3 separate regions of the Homo sapiens genome follow, and all the other regions are linked to region 2. Evidence: promoter capture Hi-C in human tissues and cell types (Jung and others, 2019). All regions are on one chromosome and are shown on one strand. Each heading gives the region's core, a stretch centred on a gene start or on the middle of the fragment in contact. The rest is flanking DNA. Distances are from core to core; before and after follow the strand shown.

Region 1 (2,755 bases), core at 118-2,617, 220 kb before region 2:
CTAATCCAACAGCAATGTAACAGAATGGGGATGGGCGGTGAGAAGGGTGTTAACAGAATACCTGCTATGTGTGCCTCCTATGTGTACCTTTCAGCTACTCCGTGGCTGTAAATTGCCTTCAGAAGACCTAGCACCGAGCATAGTATCTGGCAGATAGTAGGTGTCCAACAAATGTTTGCTGGATGTTGAGCAAAGTACTAGGTACCAGATCCAAGAACTCTGGAAAGGACTATGGGAAATCCCTGAAACCTGGCTCCTGGAGGGGACCCTTAAGCTCACACCAGGAGGGGATCTCCCTGCGAAGCAGCGCCTCCTTAACCACTTGCTCTCCACACAGAACGGCCCCAACTCTCCTGCTCCTCTGATGGAAACTACCAGCACACCTCTCCTCAAAGGTGACATCAGCTCCTAGTGGCACCTTGTCCTGGATCCCTCCTCCTTCTCGAAGAAAACCACCTACACCATGTCTCCAAGTCCTCCAGCCCGACCTCTCTCTTCCCACCCACCATCAAAACCTCAAAATCTGCGCTGGAAAACATCCCTACTGCGTGGACGTAAGTCAGCGCCCCACTCCCACCCTCCCAGTTCAGGCATCTCTATTCCAGCCCTCTTTTCCTGTTGCGCCCACCCCTGTCCCCACCCCCACCAGGCCTCGGGTTGGCCGCTCCTTCCACCCCACCGCCCTGGCACTGCGGAGATGGGGGCATCTCTGGCACAGACTGAGGCTGGCAGTTCGAGGAATGGAGAGCTAGCGACAGGAACAGGGGTGCTATGAGCAACTCGGGAAAGATTAAGACCCCCGCGAAGAGCGAAGACCTCAGCCCATCAGAATCGCGTCCCCAAAGGAGTGGGGTTGGCCCCGGAGCCGAGAGGCGCTTTTTCTGACTCTCCTGGAGGGGAAATGGGGGCGCAGTCTGCTCCGTTCCCACCGGGAGACTCGCCAACTCGGCCCCCTCCCCTGAAGCCGATGGAGCAGAGGGCGCACTCCACGCCCTCCCCGCAGATCAGGCATCGCCCCTATCCTCACCCCCAAGGGCACAGGGCACCGCAAAGGAGGGCGAGGGGCGGCAGGGTAAGCAGTACCGACGCCTGCCGGAGGTAGCACATACGGAGTCAAAAAGGGCTGTTTCCCGAGGTGCGATAGACGAGACCCCTCCCCAAACTGTCGAGGGGAGCTGGAGATGGGGAAAAGACGCATCCTACCCCAGTCCAGGCTCTGGGCGCTCACCTGCCTGCAAATGCCGAAGGCCAGGCGGCTAGGCTCGGAAGCAGCAGGGAGCCGCCCCCGACCCGTGCAGCCCGACACGTCCTAGAGCCGAGCCGGCGCCGAGGTAGCTGCAGCCTCCGCCGCCCAAGCGCGCGGCCGCGGGGCCCCGCCCCCTTCCTCCGCGGACAACCCCCCCCGGCTCCGCCCCCTAGGCGGGGCTGGGCTGCCGCGACCGAGGCCACGCCTCCCGCCCCCAAGCGCCTCGGGTCCGGGCACGTGACGAGAGCGCCGCTTTGAGGCCGCGCGCCATCTTGGTTCAGCCTAGGAGGTGGCGAAGTGCCAGAGTTTTATTCCGCAGAAGGGTCTCAGGGCCCAGGAGTGCTGCCCACATTCTGCCCCTCCCTCTGAACTCGCCCTTGTTCCTAGTCTAACAGCCCGTTCCCTAAATTGGCCTTAGTCTCGGCCTTGTAATTGTCAAGTTTGTCACCTTTCACGCTTGCTCTCCTGCCCGTTCCTTGCTTTTCCTTTGATCGCACCCATTTTTTAAGTGGGGAAACTTGATATCCGGATACTACATCTGTAGTATGCTCTTCAGTGAATTGTGTCGCTTGCCTTCAGGCACCTGGCTGTTCTAACACTGTTACTACAAAATGAAGGGTTTGTCTATTACATATACATAGTATGAAAACAAGTCTCAAATGCCAAAATTCCTGACTGACAAATTTTAGCTAAGCCTCTCCATTTTCCTGAATTGCTCCCTTACCCTGCCCCCTGTGGCTATTAATGCATCTTTTCCATCTGCTTTGTGAAGTTTCATCACAGTGCCTACTCAATCCTTTACCAATACCCAGTAAGCACCACTAAAAGTGTGAACAATTTTTATATACATGCAATGTGTTCATGTGTGTGTATTTATAGATATATACACAGCATGTTCTATATCAGCAGCAAATGCTATAGTTGAGATCAGTGACACATACAACCTTCTCTCATTTATCTTCCACCCAATATATTCACCATTTGGCATAATTTCCTTGCGTCTCTTTGAAGACAGGGAAATCTTGAGTAATTCTGATCTGAGGGGTGGGTAAGTGAAGCTAAATCTGTGACCCTTGAACAACAGGGCCTTCAACTGCACAGGGCCAGTTGCATGCAGATTTTCTTCCTTCCCCGCCACCCCTGAGACAGCAAGACTACCCCTCCTCTTCTTACTCGTCAGCCTGCTCAACATGATGACCCACTTAATGAACAGTAAATGTATTTTCTCTTCTTTGATTTTCTTAATAACATTTTCTTTTCTCGAGCTTATTATAATAAGGTATATACTACATATACAAAATGCACATTAATCAACTGTTTATGTTATCAATAAGGCTTCCAGTCAACAGTAGGCTATTAAGTTTTCGGGCAGTCAAAAGTCATAGCAGATTTTCAACTGTGTGAGGGTCTGTGTCCATAACTCTCACAGCGTTCAAGGATCAATTTATGTTGCTTGACAGAGCAAAATCACAGTATATAACCTGTAGTCCAGAAAGTTCTAATTCTTCT
Region 2 (3,125 bases), core at 626-3,125:
CGATAATTCTTCTACCCAACTTTTATTTAGTATTATTAAATATTCAGTAAAGTTAAAAGAAATTTGCATCAAATTCCTCTATACCCACTACCTAGATTCTATTATAACTTGCCACATCGCATATCTATCTTGCACTGATAATTCTTTTAATAGTGTATTAGCTGTCCCCTGGGCTTGACTCTCCATTGCAGTAGGGAGCAGGAAAAGACTCCAGGTCCCAAAGCCCTGGAGAGCTAAGAAAAGGAATACGTTCTCCCAGGACCACTGTGAACTCTTTCCTGGGCCCGGTACCTCTGGGAAAAATTTGTTGAAGGGAAGGCGGTTTTCTTCTCCCCCCACGCCCATCCCCCCTTTTAATTGAAGACTTCTTAAGCATAAGAGATTTCCTTCCACTAGGTGAATCTGAAAGCGAACTAAGATCTTGACAAACATTCCTTGCATACGTTTGGCAGCTTTCTGGATGAAAGAGGTCATTTCAATGTTGACGTTCTACTTTTTGAGCTTCCTCCTTTTTTCTGAGGCTGCTGGACACTACCCCCCCACCCCCGTCCCCCGTCTCCCGCCAAAAGAAAAAAGGCGCCTCAAAAGTGTTCGTATCTCTTAAAGTTCGTTAACCTCTTTGCCTCCGTTGCCTGCTCTGCAAAATGAGGATAATATCGTACCTACTCAATATGGTGGTTGTGAAGACTCAGTGAGCTAATACATGCAGAGCGTTTAGAGCAGTGCTTTACACACAGTAGCATTAAATAGCGGCTATCACCCATAAGCACATAACTCCCAGATTTATATCTCCAATTCTGATCTCGCCCCTTCAGATTTATACCCTTCAGTCTGTTGAAGGATACCCCGTTGTGTATTTCTACCTGTATGTACCAGAGACACCTCAAATTCAAAATGTCCAGAAATGAACACAGTATCTTCTTCCCTTGAGTAACTCGCCTTCTGTATATAATTGGGGTGAATGTTCCAGCAATGCCAACGGGCTAGCATCTACTCAGGCAGGTACGCCAGACATCTGAATCTTAATACCTCGTCGTCCCCCCTCAATCTGTCACTATGTCCTAATTTTATTTCCTACCTTTGCATCCCTTCCTCATAATTATCAGCACCACTGCCTTAATTTAGATCCTATCATTCCTTGTCTGGATTATTTCAAGTCTTTCGCCCCTCTCAAGTCTGACCTCGTCATAGACTGTTTGTGGATGATTATTTTCCCTGCAACATCTCCACCTCCCAATAGTCTCCATCACTTATTAGCCATGTGAATTATGGCAAATTGCTTAACCTACCTATGCCTCACTTTCCTTATTGTAAAGTGGAAATAAGAGTACCTATCTCATAGGGTTGTGTGATTAATCATGCGATGCAATTAGAACAGTGCCTAGGATATGAAAGTGCCCCAAAATGTTACGTTATTATTATTATTACTACTATTGCCTTCTCATGAACATGCTATGTGTATGTTCAAGCTGTTATCTCTACTGGAAAATCCTTCTCCGTTTCCAATACTCTTTCCAAAACCCCCTCCTGGGTTTTACTGCACCTACCATTGTGTACTGACGTGATTGAATGATTGGCTTATGGGACTGATCCTTTCTACCAGACTTAACTTCTTCAGGGCAGGAACTCTGATACATAGTAAATGGTCAATAAAAGTTGGCTCAACTGAAACCCTAAGGATAAACTCCATCCACAGCGGAAGGCGCGGCCCCGCCCGATTCGGGGGCGGGGCGGGGAGCCGCGCGCGGAGGGTGGGTCGATGGGGGTGGGGTGGGACTCTTTTTCCTCGCCGTGGCGGCGGAGGCGCACGGCGTGGGCTTGCGGCGAGACGTCGTCGTCGGAGGCTGAAAAAGCCCAAGGTGCTGCCGTTGCCCGTACAACTCGGACTTGCTGTTGCTCGAGCCGCGTCTGCACGGGTCTCGGACCGAGCGGAGCTCGCAGCCTCGGTCCCGGAGCCCACCTTCGCCTCGCCCTTGCCCAGCCTGCGGTGATGGAGGCGGCCACCACACTGCACCCAGGCCCGCGCCCGGCGCTGCCCCTCGGGGGCCCGGGCCCGCTGGGCGAGTTCCTGCCTCCACCCGAGTGCCCGGTCTTCGAACCCAGCTGGGAAGAGTTCGCGGACCCCTTCGCTTTCATCCACAAGATCCGGCCCATAGCCGAGCAGACTGGCATCTGTAAGGTGCGGCCGCCGCCGGTGAGTCACGCCAGCACCCCGGATCCAGCTCGTGGCTGGGGGAGGGAGCGGGGACGCGCGGGTCCGGGGAGGCCCGAGGCGCGGGGGGCGGGGAGCCGGTCGCCCCGCCGGCCTCGTCAAGTTTGGGGCTGCCTAGAAGGTCGGAGTTGAGGCCGGGGGAGGAAGACGGGGGCTTCTCCAGGGTGGGAGATGAGGAGCGTGGGAGAACCGGGGGCTTCGGCGGTGCCATGGGAGGGCCGGGTCGCCGCGGGGCTCGGGCGGCCGGGTGCGGAGGTTCGGGTTCGGTTCCGGATGGAGTGATGGCAGGAGCCGGGGGTGGTCGCGGGGGAGTTTCCTCACGGAGCCTGGCGGAGGCGCGGGCTGGAGGGAGGACTGTGGGCCCGGCGAGGCTCGGCAGGCTGGTCCTCGCCTCCGCTCCCGGGGTGCGGGGGTGTGTGATGGGGTGGGGTGGGGGTGGGGGACTTGCGAGTTGTCGTGCGAGGAGGAAAGTTTTCAATATGGCGGCGGGAGCCCCTGGTCCTTTGTGTGGTGGCGGCGTCGGCCCGGAGCGGCCCTCACCTGGGCGCCCCACCCTCCAGACCAGGGCACCCCTCCACCGCCTGGTCCCCGGGCCTCCAGGTGTCCCCCGGGCCGGGGTCAAGAAGGGGGCGGCCAGCGCTGGCTGGGGGCGGGGAGGAGCCGCGGGTCCAGCCCCGGAGCGGATGTTTGTGGGGGGCGTTAGTGTCTGGGGGACACTTTTGGGGCGGCGGGGGCAGGACGGGCGGCGGTGGGCCCCGATGCCCGCCCGCGCTCCCGAACGCGCACACTCCCGGCTTCTTCTGGCTCAGCCGCTCGGCTCCCCGGGGAGGCCTGGGCTGTGCTGGTGGGGATGGGGTCCGGGCGAGGCCGTGTTTGTAGGGGAACGTCAGACGGAGAGACCTCCGAAGATTTC
Region 3 (2,724 bases), core at 26-2,525, 160 kb before region 2:
TCAAGATCAGCCTGGGCAATAAAGTGAAAGCTCGTATTTACAAAACTTTTAAAAAAATTAGCCAGGAGTGGTGGCACTTGCTTGTGGTCTCAGCTACTCAGGGAGGTTCAGGTAGAAGAATCGCTGGAGCCTGGGAGGTTGAGGCTGCAGTGAGCCGTGATCATACCACTGCACTCCAGCTTGGTGACAGAGGAGACTCTATCTCAAAAAAACAAAAAAAAAAAAGTAAAATCACAATGAGATACCTCTTCATGCCTATTAGAATGGCCAAAATCAAAAGTGCTGACAATACCAATTGCTAATGAAAATGCCGCAGCAATTGGAATTCTCATCCATTGCTAGTGGGAAGGCAAAATGGTATAATCACCTTGAAAAACAGTTTGGCAGCTTTTTATATAAAGTTAAATATACACCTTCCATGTGATCCGGAAATCACACTTGTGGATATTTCAGAGAAATAAAAACTAGGTTCACATGGAAATCTGCACATGAATGTTTAAAGCAATTTCAATCATCACCAAAAATTGGAAATAACTCAAATGTCCTTCAGCTGATGAATGGATAAACAAATTATGATACAGCCATACAACAGAATACTACTAGCAATGAAAAGAATGGACTGTAAATACACATGATAACTTGGATGAATCTCAAACTATGCTGAGTGAAAGAAATCCACTCAAAAGCTTACATATTGTATAGACTTTATTTATGTGACATTCATAAAGAGGCAAAAGTGTATTGACAGGGAACACATCAGTGATAACCAGGAGTTAAAGGTAAGGGGAGGATGTGGCCATAAAGGGATAGCATATGGGAGATTTGCAGGGTGATCAAACTGGTCTATTTCCTGATTATAGTGGTGCCACAAATCTATACATATTCTAGAATTCACAGAACTGTATGCCCAAGAGTCTATTTTAATGTATGACAATTACAAATTTAAAATGAGACAGCTGGGGCCAGGCGCAGTGGCTCATGCCTGTAATTCCAGCACTTTGGGAGGCCGAGCCGGGTGGATCACAATGTCAGGAGTTCAAGAACAGTCTGGCCAAGATGGTGAAACCCCTTCTCTACTAAAAATACAAAAATTAGCCAGGCGCCATGGCGGGCGCTGTGGAAGTCGCCTATAATCCCAGCTACTCAGGAGGCTGAGGCAGGAGAATCTCTTGAACCCGGGAGGCAGAGGTTGCAGTGAGCCGAGATCGTGCCACTGCACTCCAGCCTGGGTGACAGAGTGAGACTCCATCTCAAAAAAAAAAAAAAAAAAAAAAGGCCGGGCACGGCGGCTCATCCCTGTAATCCCAGCACTTTGGGAGGCCGAGGAGGATGGATCACAAGGTCAGGAGATTGAGACTATCCTGGCTAACACAGTGAAACCCCGTCTCTACTAAAAATACAAAAAATTAGCCAGGCGTGGTGGCGGGCGCCTGTAGTCCCAGCTACTCGGGAGGCTGAGGCAGGAGAATGGCGTGAACCTGGGAGGTGGAGCTGGTAGTGAGCCAAGATCATGCCACTGCACTCCAGCCTAGGCGACAGAGTGAGACTCCATCTCAAAAAAAAAAAAAAAAAAAAGAGACAGGTGGAACTTTGAACACTGACTAGCTATCTGATGAAACTAAGTAATTGTTGTTAATTATTTTTACATGTGATAATGGTATTATGGTTATTTTTAAGTCCTTAGCTTTTAAAGATACACACTAAAATATTTAAGGACAAAGTTATAAAAAATATGGGATTTGCTTAAAAATAATACTGGAGGAAGGAACGGACTGGGGAAGAAATGAAAGAAAGGTGACCATGATTTAATAATTGTTGAAGAGGGTGATGGGTACGTCGGGCTTTATTATACTGTTCTGTCTACTTTTGTATATGTTTGATAGTTTCCATACTAAAAAGTTCAGCCAGGCACGGTGGCTTACGCCTGTAATCCCAGCACTTTGGGAGGCTGAGGCAGGCGGATCACGAAGTTAGGAGTTTGAGACCAGCCTGGCCAACATGGTGAAACCTCGTCTCTACTAAAAGTACAAAAATTAGCCGGGGATGGTGGCGCATGCCTGTAATCCCAGCTACTCAGGAGGCTGAGGCAGAAGAATCACTTGAACCTGGGAGGCAGAGGTTGCAGTGAGTCGAGATTGCGCCACTGCACTCCAGCCTGGGTGACAGAGCAAGACTCCGTCTCAAAAAAAAAAGAAAAGTTCAAAAAGGGTGTGAGGTTGTTAGTTTTCAACATCAAGCTGCCTGGTATGCAGTCTGAGTTTGCCATTTAGTAGGTGATCTTGGGCAAGTGACTTACTTGTCCTAAACTTCAGTTTCCCCCCACTCCATAAAATGAGACTACTAATGATAATATCTATCTCACAGTTGTTGTCAGGATTAAATGGATGTTGTCAGAATACGTGAAAAGCAATTTACCTAGTTCTTGCTATATTGCACATGCTCAATAAATGTTAATTTTTTTGTCATTATTACATCTCCTGGTCTGATTCCTCCATGCCATCTCCTCAGTATGAGCAAGTCTTCCTCCAAGCTTCTTTCTGGATATCTTATCTAAAAAGGGCCACTGAGTTTTACATCCTAATTCAGAATTATAAAACACAGGTTTGAAATTCTACTTCCCCCTCACACTACATTATATATATATATTTTTTTAAACAGGGTCTTGCTCTATTGCCCAGGCTGGAGTGCAGTGGCGCAATCATGGCTCACTGCAGCGTTGATCTC

Evidence for each region. The method cuts DNA at HindIII sites, captures the fragments that hold promoters and counts their contacts. A contact is called where the count stands out against the background at its distance.
Region 1: a contact is called between the fragment with the promoter of PPFIA4 here and the fragment with the promoter of KDM5B in region 2, in 1 of the 25 tissues and cell types used here (IMR-90 fibroblasts).
Region 3: a contact is called between a fragment that was not itself captured here and the fragment with the promoter of KDM5B in region 2, in 1 of the 25 tissues and cell types used here (liver).

Annotation. Positions count from the first base shown.
Region 1 is chr1:203,025,103-203,027,857 of GRCh38, reverse strand. PPFIA4 (PPFI scaffold protein A4) reads right to left here and starts at 1,367. Exons shown (of 30, transcript NM_001304331.2): 1 at 1,229-1,367. RefSeq lists an enhancer at 920-1,441 and a silencer at 1,268-1,577. The HindIII fragment of the contact is 14,289 bases long and covers 1-2,755 here.
Region 2 is chr1:202,807,171-202,810,295 of GRCh38, reverse strand. It overlaps KDM5B (lysine demethylase 5B), which reads left to right and starts at 1,875. Exons shown (of 27, transcript NM_006618.5): 1 at 1,875-2,194. The coding sequence starts at 1,991. LOC124904583 reads left to right here. Exons shown (of 3, transcript XM_047439549.1): 3 at 1-58. RefSeq lists silencers at 1,861-2,070, 2,101-2,300, 2,701-2,820, 2,921-2,990. The HindIII fragment of the contact is 12,124 bases long and covers 1-3,125 here.
Region 3 is chr1:202,969,806-202,972,529 of GRCh38, reverse strand. No RefSeq gene overlaps it. Among named protein-coding and RNA genes, the nearest start is that of CYB5R1, 3.9 kb to the right of the region's middle. The HindIII fragment of the contact is 4,279 bases long and covers 1-2,724 here.